2 separate regions of the Homo sapiens genome follow, and region 2 is linked to region 1. The links are contacts of gene promoters, found by promoter capture Hi-C in blood cells and fetal thymus (Javierre and others, 2016). All regions are on one chromosome and are shown on one strand. Each heading gives the region's core, a stretch centred on a gene start or on the middle of the fragment in contact. The rest is flanking DNA. Distances are from core to core; before and after follow the strand shown. Region 1 holds the start of F5 (coagulation factor V). Region 2 has its middle 28 kb from the start of XCL1.

Region 1 (3,265 bases), core at 514-3,013:
AGATTTTTCATAAGAAAATGCTAGAGAGAAATGATATGATTTAGGGTTAAACAATATGACAGTTTGTCTGGGTTGTGTTTCTATGGTTTTGACTCAACAATTCCTACCAGAGGAACGAATCTCCAGAACTTTGGAAACTTACCCACAGGATGAGGGGACAGAATGACCAGTCATGGTTCCCTGTGTACTCACCATGTGAATCAGACCTTTGCCCTATCTGGTTCTGCCTCCGGTATTTTGCTTGTTATTTTCAACGCTAACTACAGACAAGAGAAAAAACTCCCAAGCATGAACCCAGCATGCTACAAGAAAGCCAACAACCAAGTCTGCATTCTACTCATGAGCAGGCAAGATTAGTGTTAGAAGGACTGTTATTTTCCTTGGGGTTTTAGCTTACGGCAGTTCCCAAAGGGTGTGGGTGTGACCTAGATTATCACTTTGAAGTACGATATTTAAAATGATTATTTTTGAGAAGGAGGGATCTCTTCTTATTATAAGACCAAGATGGTATGTAATACCCTCCAAAATAACCCAGTTACAATGAGAGTTTTAAAAAGGTTAATATTATACACTAAAAGATCTCAAAATATTACATTATTTTTTGGCAGATTACTTTGGTTTTGTAATTGTAAAAGAGGAACACATCTTTCATAATGAAGTGTGATGTAAGGAAAAAAAGTGAGTCACACTAGCAGGTTTACCATTTAAAAAATAACTAACTGGAAATATTGAATAGACTGTATGATTTAGTTAATTTCTGAGAAGTCTTATTTTTAACATTTCAATTAGAAAAAATAGTTTGCAACTCAAGGATAGTATTTTATCTGAATTAAACCTCCTCTCAGTTACATATGCCTTTAAGTAGCCAAGGTAAACCATATCCCAGGACATGATGAACAGAGAGAAAAAAAAATGAAGAGTCACATTCAATAGGATAAATAAGTCAAATATGAAGCAGAAAAAAGGTGAAAGTACAAAAACATACAAGAACTGATGATATTTTGAAAGTCATTTATAAGGCAGCAATAAAATTATATGACAAAAAGCACAAGGTGTTCATTTTTAGTTTTAGAAGATGAAGCTATGTAGACAATGGAATAAATAATATGTAACTAGGAGTCTCATAAAAATACTATACAACTAAAAATCTGGAACAGGAGTTTGCAGGAAGGGCTAATGAGGGAGCAAGTGCCTGGTGCCTTTGAATTAACCAATATATAAGCCAACACAAACATACTAACAAAACTGTATTGAAAATAAACTTGAAAAGAAGGTAGCATCTAACCAATCAAATAGGGTGCTTTCTAAACCCTCAGAATGATAAACTACATTGTTGGATGCAAAATTAGCATTTGCCCAGTTTATTTAATTCAGTATACTCTCCTATTAGTTATATTTACTTACCTGAAGTTAAAAAAAAAAAAAGCCATGACATTGCAAAGGGAATGTTCTCTAAAAGAAATAGATTTTCCTCTCTAGAGAAGCCCACCCGGACTCCACACCTGAGTTACCTTGAGTTTGTGGGCTCAGGTCGGTAGCTCCAACTGATGCCCTGAGCAGCCACGTAGAACTGCCTTAGCTGTGCCGCTTCTGTCCCTTGGCTCCCCCAGCCTACCCAGCTGGTGCCCAAGACCACCAGGACCCAGAGGCGTGGGCAGCCTGGGAACATGCTTCCTTTCCTGCTCCCGCTGGCTGCCACCACCCCAGGACCTGGGCAGCGCTTGCCGAGCTGCTAACCACACTCCGGGCTGTCCCAGCTGCAATGAGCTCTAGAGGCTGTGGGTGGCAGCGTCCTCCTCCCCTGCAGTTCTTGCAAACGGCAGCAGCAGCCTCTGGCTCTCACTCCCTCCGCTTTTTCTGGGGCTTTTCCTGGCAGGGGTTTGGTGAGATCACAGCTCCCAGTGACCAGAGGTATTAGGGAGAGCAACCAAACTAGTGACTGTTTTACTGCAGGTGAAGAAGGGGCAGAGATCAGAGGCTCTAGCAGGCGGGACAATGCCCAGGGATTCATGAGCCGGACAAAGCTGTATCCCTCCATTTCCACCTGCCAACACCACGGAAGCAGTCGTCCGTTACCACTGACCTGAGGCCTGCCTGGGTCCAAGCTCACACTTGGAGAACCTTCTGTGCAGTGCAGTGGCACCCAACCACCTTAAGCAGATGGCTCCCCTTTTAATCTGAGGAAAAGAGTATTGTGCCCTGTTACTGGGCACTGAAACACTATTTTCAAGTGGTGAAGAAGCAGGGAACAAACACATGGACAAGGCCTACTGCTCTGAATCGCCTTCCTGGCCTCTATCAAGGCACAGTTCTGCCTTGATAAGGGCCTGTCGCCAGCTAAGCTGCAGCATAGCAGCGGGCTTGAAGAGCTTGGCTGAAAAAAATCAGTTGTCCAGATTTCAGTTTCACTTACTAGCTGTGTTGTCTTGGGCAAGTTACTGTACCTCTCTGTTCAGTTTTGACATCTGTGAAATAAGGATGACAATAATAATTTTTCCTGATAGGGTATGTTGGGAGGATAAAATGCTACTGTAAACTATAGTTCCAGCACTTAACACACAGAGGCTAGGCGCAGTGGCTCACGCCTGTAATCCCAGTACTTTGGGAGGCCAAGGCGGGTGAATCACCTGAGGTCAGGAGTTCAAGACCAGCCTGGCCAACATGGTGAAACCCTTCTCTACTAAAAATATAAAAAATTAGCCGGGCGTTGTGGTGGACACCTGTAATCCCACCTACTCGAGAGATTGAGGCAAGAGAATTGCTTGAACCTGGAAGGTGGAGTTTGCAGTGAGCTGATATCATGCCATTTTACTCCAGCCTGGGCAACGAGAGCAAAACTCCATCAAAAAAAAAAAAGAAAGAAAGAAAAAGAAAGAAAGAGAAAAAGAGAGAAAGAAGGAATCACAAATTTATTATTATGATCATATTTTCCTGTCTCCAGGACCCCTTGTATTCTTGTTTTTCTTGAAGGATCTGACTGTTTCACAGCACCTTAAATCTTACTTTGCTATTGATAGAGAATCTGCGAATTATATTGTCTGAGGCATCATAATGACTTGTCCTGGGTTCCCTGTATCTGCATGGCTCCAGGTTTCTGTCTTATGCTTTATGCATTCAGTACATTCAATAAATTGTAATCTGGCACCTCACATGAGGTCTCTGTTAATGATATCAGGCTCATCAACAGCCTCTTCCTCCCTCCCCACTCCCCCCAATATTCTGTCTTTTCTCCTGTGCTGATATTATTGCACCAACTTAGAATGCC
Region 2 (3,265 bases), core at 402-2,901, 980 kb before region 1:
TTTCACTCACTTAAAACAGATCTTGGGATTGAACCAAGTCTAAATCATACCAGAGTTCAGGTCCTTAACCAACAGGCTCTGCTGTATCAGTTAAGTTTTGGTTCTGAAAATGGAAGCCACTCTAAGTTTTTTTCACTATAAAGGAAGCTGACGTAGGGAATAAGGCTTATACAACCTTTATATATGCCTCCCATTGGAAGAAAACAATGATCAGGATGGCTCTAGATCTAGAAACACAAATATTGCAGTGATATCACTACTACTGAGCTTAGCTGCTTGCAGCATCTGGGAGCTGCTGACAAAGCCCCACATCAGCCATTTGCTGATACCCAGACGCGTGCCTAGATCTTTACTGGAAGCAATGGCCCATCTTTTTCTTCTGCTTTGCAAACTTCACAAAGTGCCACCCCAATGATATTCAAACAGGCACTTGAGAAACGTGATTTCCATGCTTTCAGGCCCTGTTTTACAAGGGGAAAGCTTAGAAGGACAGAAAGGATACTGAACATCCACAGATAATATCAGGCTCACAGGTTATGAGACAAAGCATAATTTACCTGATTTTTTCTATCATTATGCATTTAGGTTGTTTCCTAGCTTGTGGCTACACACTTCACTGGCTCATATGCCCACCTGCATATATATTTTAGCCACACACCCAATTTCAGTTCTCCCAGGGAGAACTGAATATGCAGGTGGGCATATGACCCAGGCAGAGCTGAAATTGGAGTGTGTGGTTAAGATATATCCCAGGTGAGCTCACAAATGTTCTGCTCTTCCACTCCTGGCCCCCTGCTGATGCTTACTGTCCAAACAGCCGCTTGAGGGCAGCACCTCCCCACTACTACAGATGCTGGCACCTGGCATGGTGATGCTGGCTTGCCTCCCTAGGCTAGGTCTCCTTATCTTCCCAAAGCTGCAGACCCTCAGGTTGCCAAGGCACATCATCCGTCTGTGCTGAACCCAACCAAGATTCTTCACCAAGTGAAGAATGCTCTGCACTAAGTCTTCTAACTTCTCCCCTGAGTACTAAACAGAGTTTTCAGGCCTCTGTGTCTCATTTATGGAAACAGCTTCTTTAGTGTCTGAGGGTGATTCTCTGTCCCTTGTGGCTAGACTGACCTATGGGCCTGGTCGGAGGCAGATGTCTCATTGTCTGCCATCTACTCCTCTCTATCGCTTGATGCCCAACCTCTGAGAAATTCTTTCCTTGATGAAAATCAACTCATGGGAAAGAAACTCCAGTTAACTGCCAGCTCTGACACTTCACAACACATGCATTTATTGTTTGAACCCTTAGGTTGAGAAACTTTCTGTATAATCTACTGCTACAATGAAAATTTTGGCCATCACTCTTTGTTCACATTCTCTCCTTAGAGAAGGCTGTGATACATATTGGCAAATTTCTTCCCGAAAGATCACACCAATTTATGCTTCCACCATCCAGTGACAGTGCCTGTATTTGTACCCTGGTCACTGCACTCTCCACTGAATGGTATTTTATCAATCTATGGAGACATTATATTTATGTGTATGTGCATGCATATATATATTTATATGTGTGTGCATGTATATGTATATAAGGGTGTGTGTTTCCCTCAGGATGTTCTGCTCACCATATTAAAATAAATCATGCCCAAATTCTCTCTGCTATATTCTTGAGACCCAAAGCACTGAGCCTTCCAAAAATGTGAGGACGGCAACAGCCCCAACATATCTGTTTAGTCCATTGTAACTGTGATCATTGCAGCTGTTGATTGATTGAAAGGTATTCTTCCAGAGGTTGAAGGGGTGTATTGCTAAGGAGTAGGTTTAACTGCAAGTGACCAAAAAGCCAAAATAAGAGTGGCTTAAACTAGATAGGTTTTTTTTTTCTCTGTCCTCTAGGGACAAAATCAGTAGTTAACAAGGCCAAGGCTGGTATGAGATCCCTGGAACCCAGGTTCTTTTCATTTTTAATTCTCAAATTTGCATCCACTTTCCATCCAGCAAGAAGAAGAAAAGGGAAGAAAAAGATGGGTTTCTTCCTTCAAAAGACATTTTCTAGAAGCTGTATGCATAACCCCAAGTATATAGGTAAGTTCAGCTGCAAGAAAGTATGGGAAATTCAGTCTTTATTCTATGTAATTGTTTTCCAGCTAAAAATAAGAGGAGTTAAGTAAAGAACAGATCTAAAGAGACAAACAGAAGTCCCTCACCTGGAGGTATATAAGATATGATGTCTGTTCTTAAATTACCCACAATTTACTTATTTCCTGGAAAGCCTGTGTTCCTCTTTTACATGGTAAACAAAATGTTGTGGATAATGGCCTATTTCTTTCTTCCTTTTAATTATAGTCTGATTTTCCTTTGACACAGATTATAGTTTCAGAGATGCTTCACATTCATTTTGGACTTCAAGTGGCTGAAGTTTCTCATACTTTACTTTCTTTCCTAGCCAGCCTCTCTGTCTGGCCATTAATGAATCTGAGAATAAACACTCAAATGCAGCTGGTAAGTGTGAGCCTGAAGATTTGTTTCATATCTTTTCCTTGACAAAAGAAGGATGAAACTGTACTAAAACACAAGGAAGCAAAGAAACTGAGAAAGAGGGAAATGAAGACAATGAATATAACCTCCATTATTCAGATTAAAAAACCTAGTTTGGCCATTCCAGGGAACTTTAATGGAGATATACATCAGTGGGCTTAGGGCAGTTTACAGAGGCAGGATTTCACCATGGTACTATATGTATCTTGTACATCTCATAAAATGCACAACAGCAAAAAATTAAGGTAATATAATTTAATAAGTTACTGGTGAGATGAATAAAGATGGTGATATAAGCTTTATTGACTAGCAACCTTAAATAAATAACAGGTATATCTTGGGCAATGAATCCCAGAAGTGTTTCTTATCACTCATAACCACTTGGCAAATGGTCCTTCTGCTGTCCAATTGGTTGGGGAAAAGTTTCCCTATTTAATTTTACATCCATCTTTATTTCCAGCTTTCTCATTTTTTGCCTGAACCATGCATCTATGCAGTGTGCCTTACTCAAGAAGCATTTTCTAAATGAAGCAATTTGTGTACAGTTGATACCCAATTCAGATACATACATTGATTGAGGGCTTTTGTCTGAGGATTGTATTACTAGAATGTGCTTTTAAAAAAATCTATATACCACATCTACTAGGATGGCTATAATAAAACAAAACCAGAAAACAACAAGTATTGGTGGGGATGTGGAAAAACTAGAATTCTCATACATGGCTGGTGGGAGTGT

What was found. Contacts are between HindIII fragments. The CHiCAGO score rates a contact against its expected background, and 5 or more counts as called.
Region 2: a contact is called between a fragment that was not itself captured here and the fragment with the promoter of F5 in region 1, in 5 of 17 cell types (total CD8 T cells, fetal thymus, total CD4 T cells and 2 more). The highest score is 7.3, in total CD8 T cells.

Annotation. Positions count from the first base shown.
Region 1 is chr1:169,584,718-169,587,982 of GRCh38, forward strand. F5 (coagulation factor V) reads right to left here and starts at 1,764. Exons shown (of 25, transcript NM_000130.5): 1 at 1,512-1,764. The coding sequence starts at 1,669. RefSeq lists enhancers at 1,238-1,739, 1,740-2,239. The HindIII fragment of the contact is 11,391 bases long and covers 1-3,265 here.
Region 2 is chr1:168,602,854-168,606,118 of GRCh38, forward strand. No RefSeq gene overlaps it. Among named protein-coding and RNA genes, the nearest start is that of XCL1, 28 kb to the left of the region's middle. The HindIII fragment of the contact is 2,346 bases long and covers 479-2,824 here.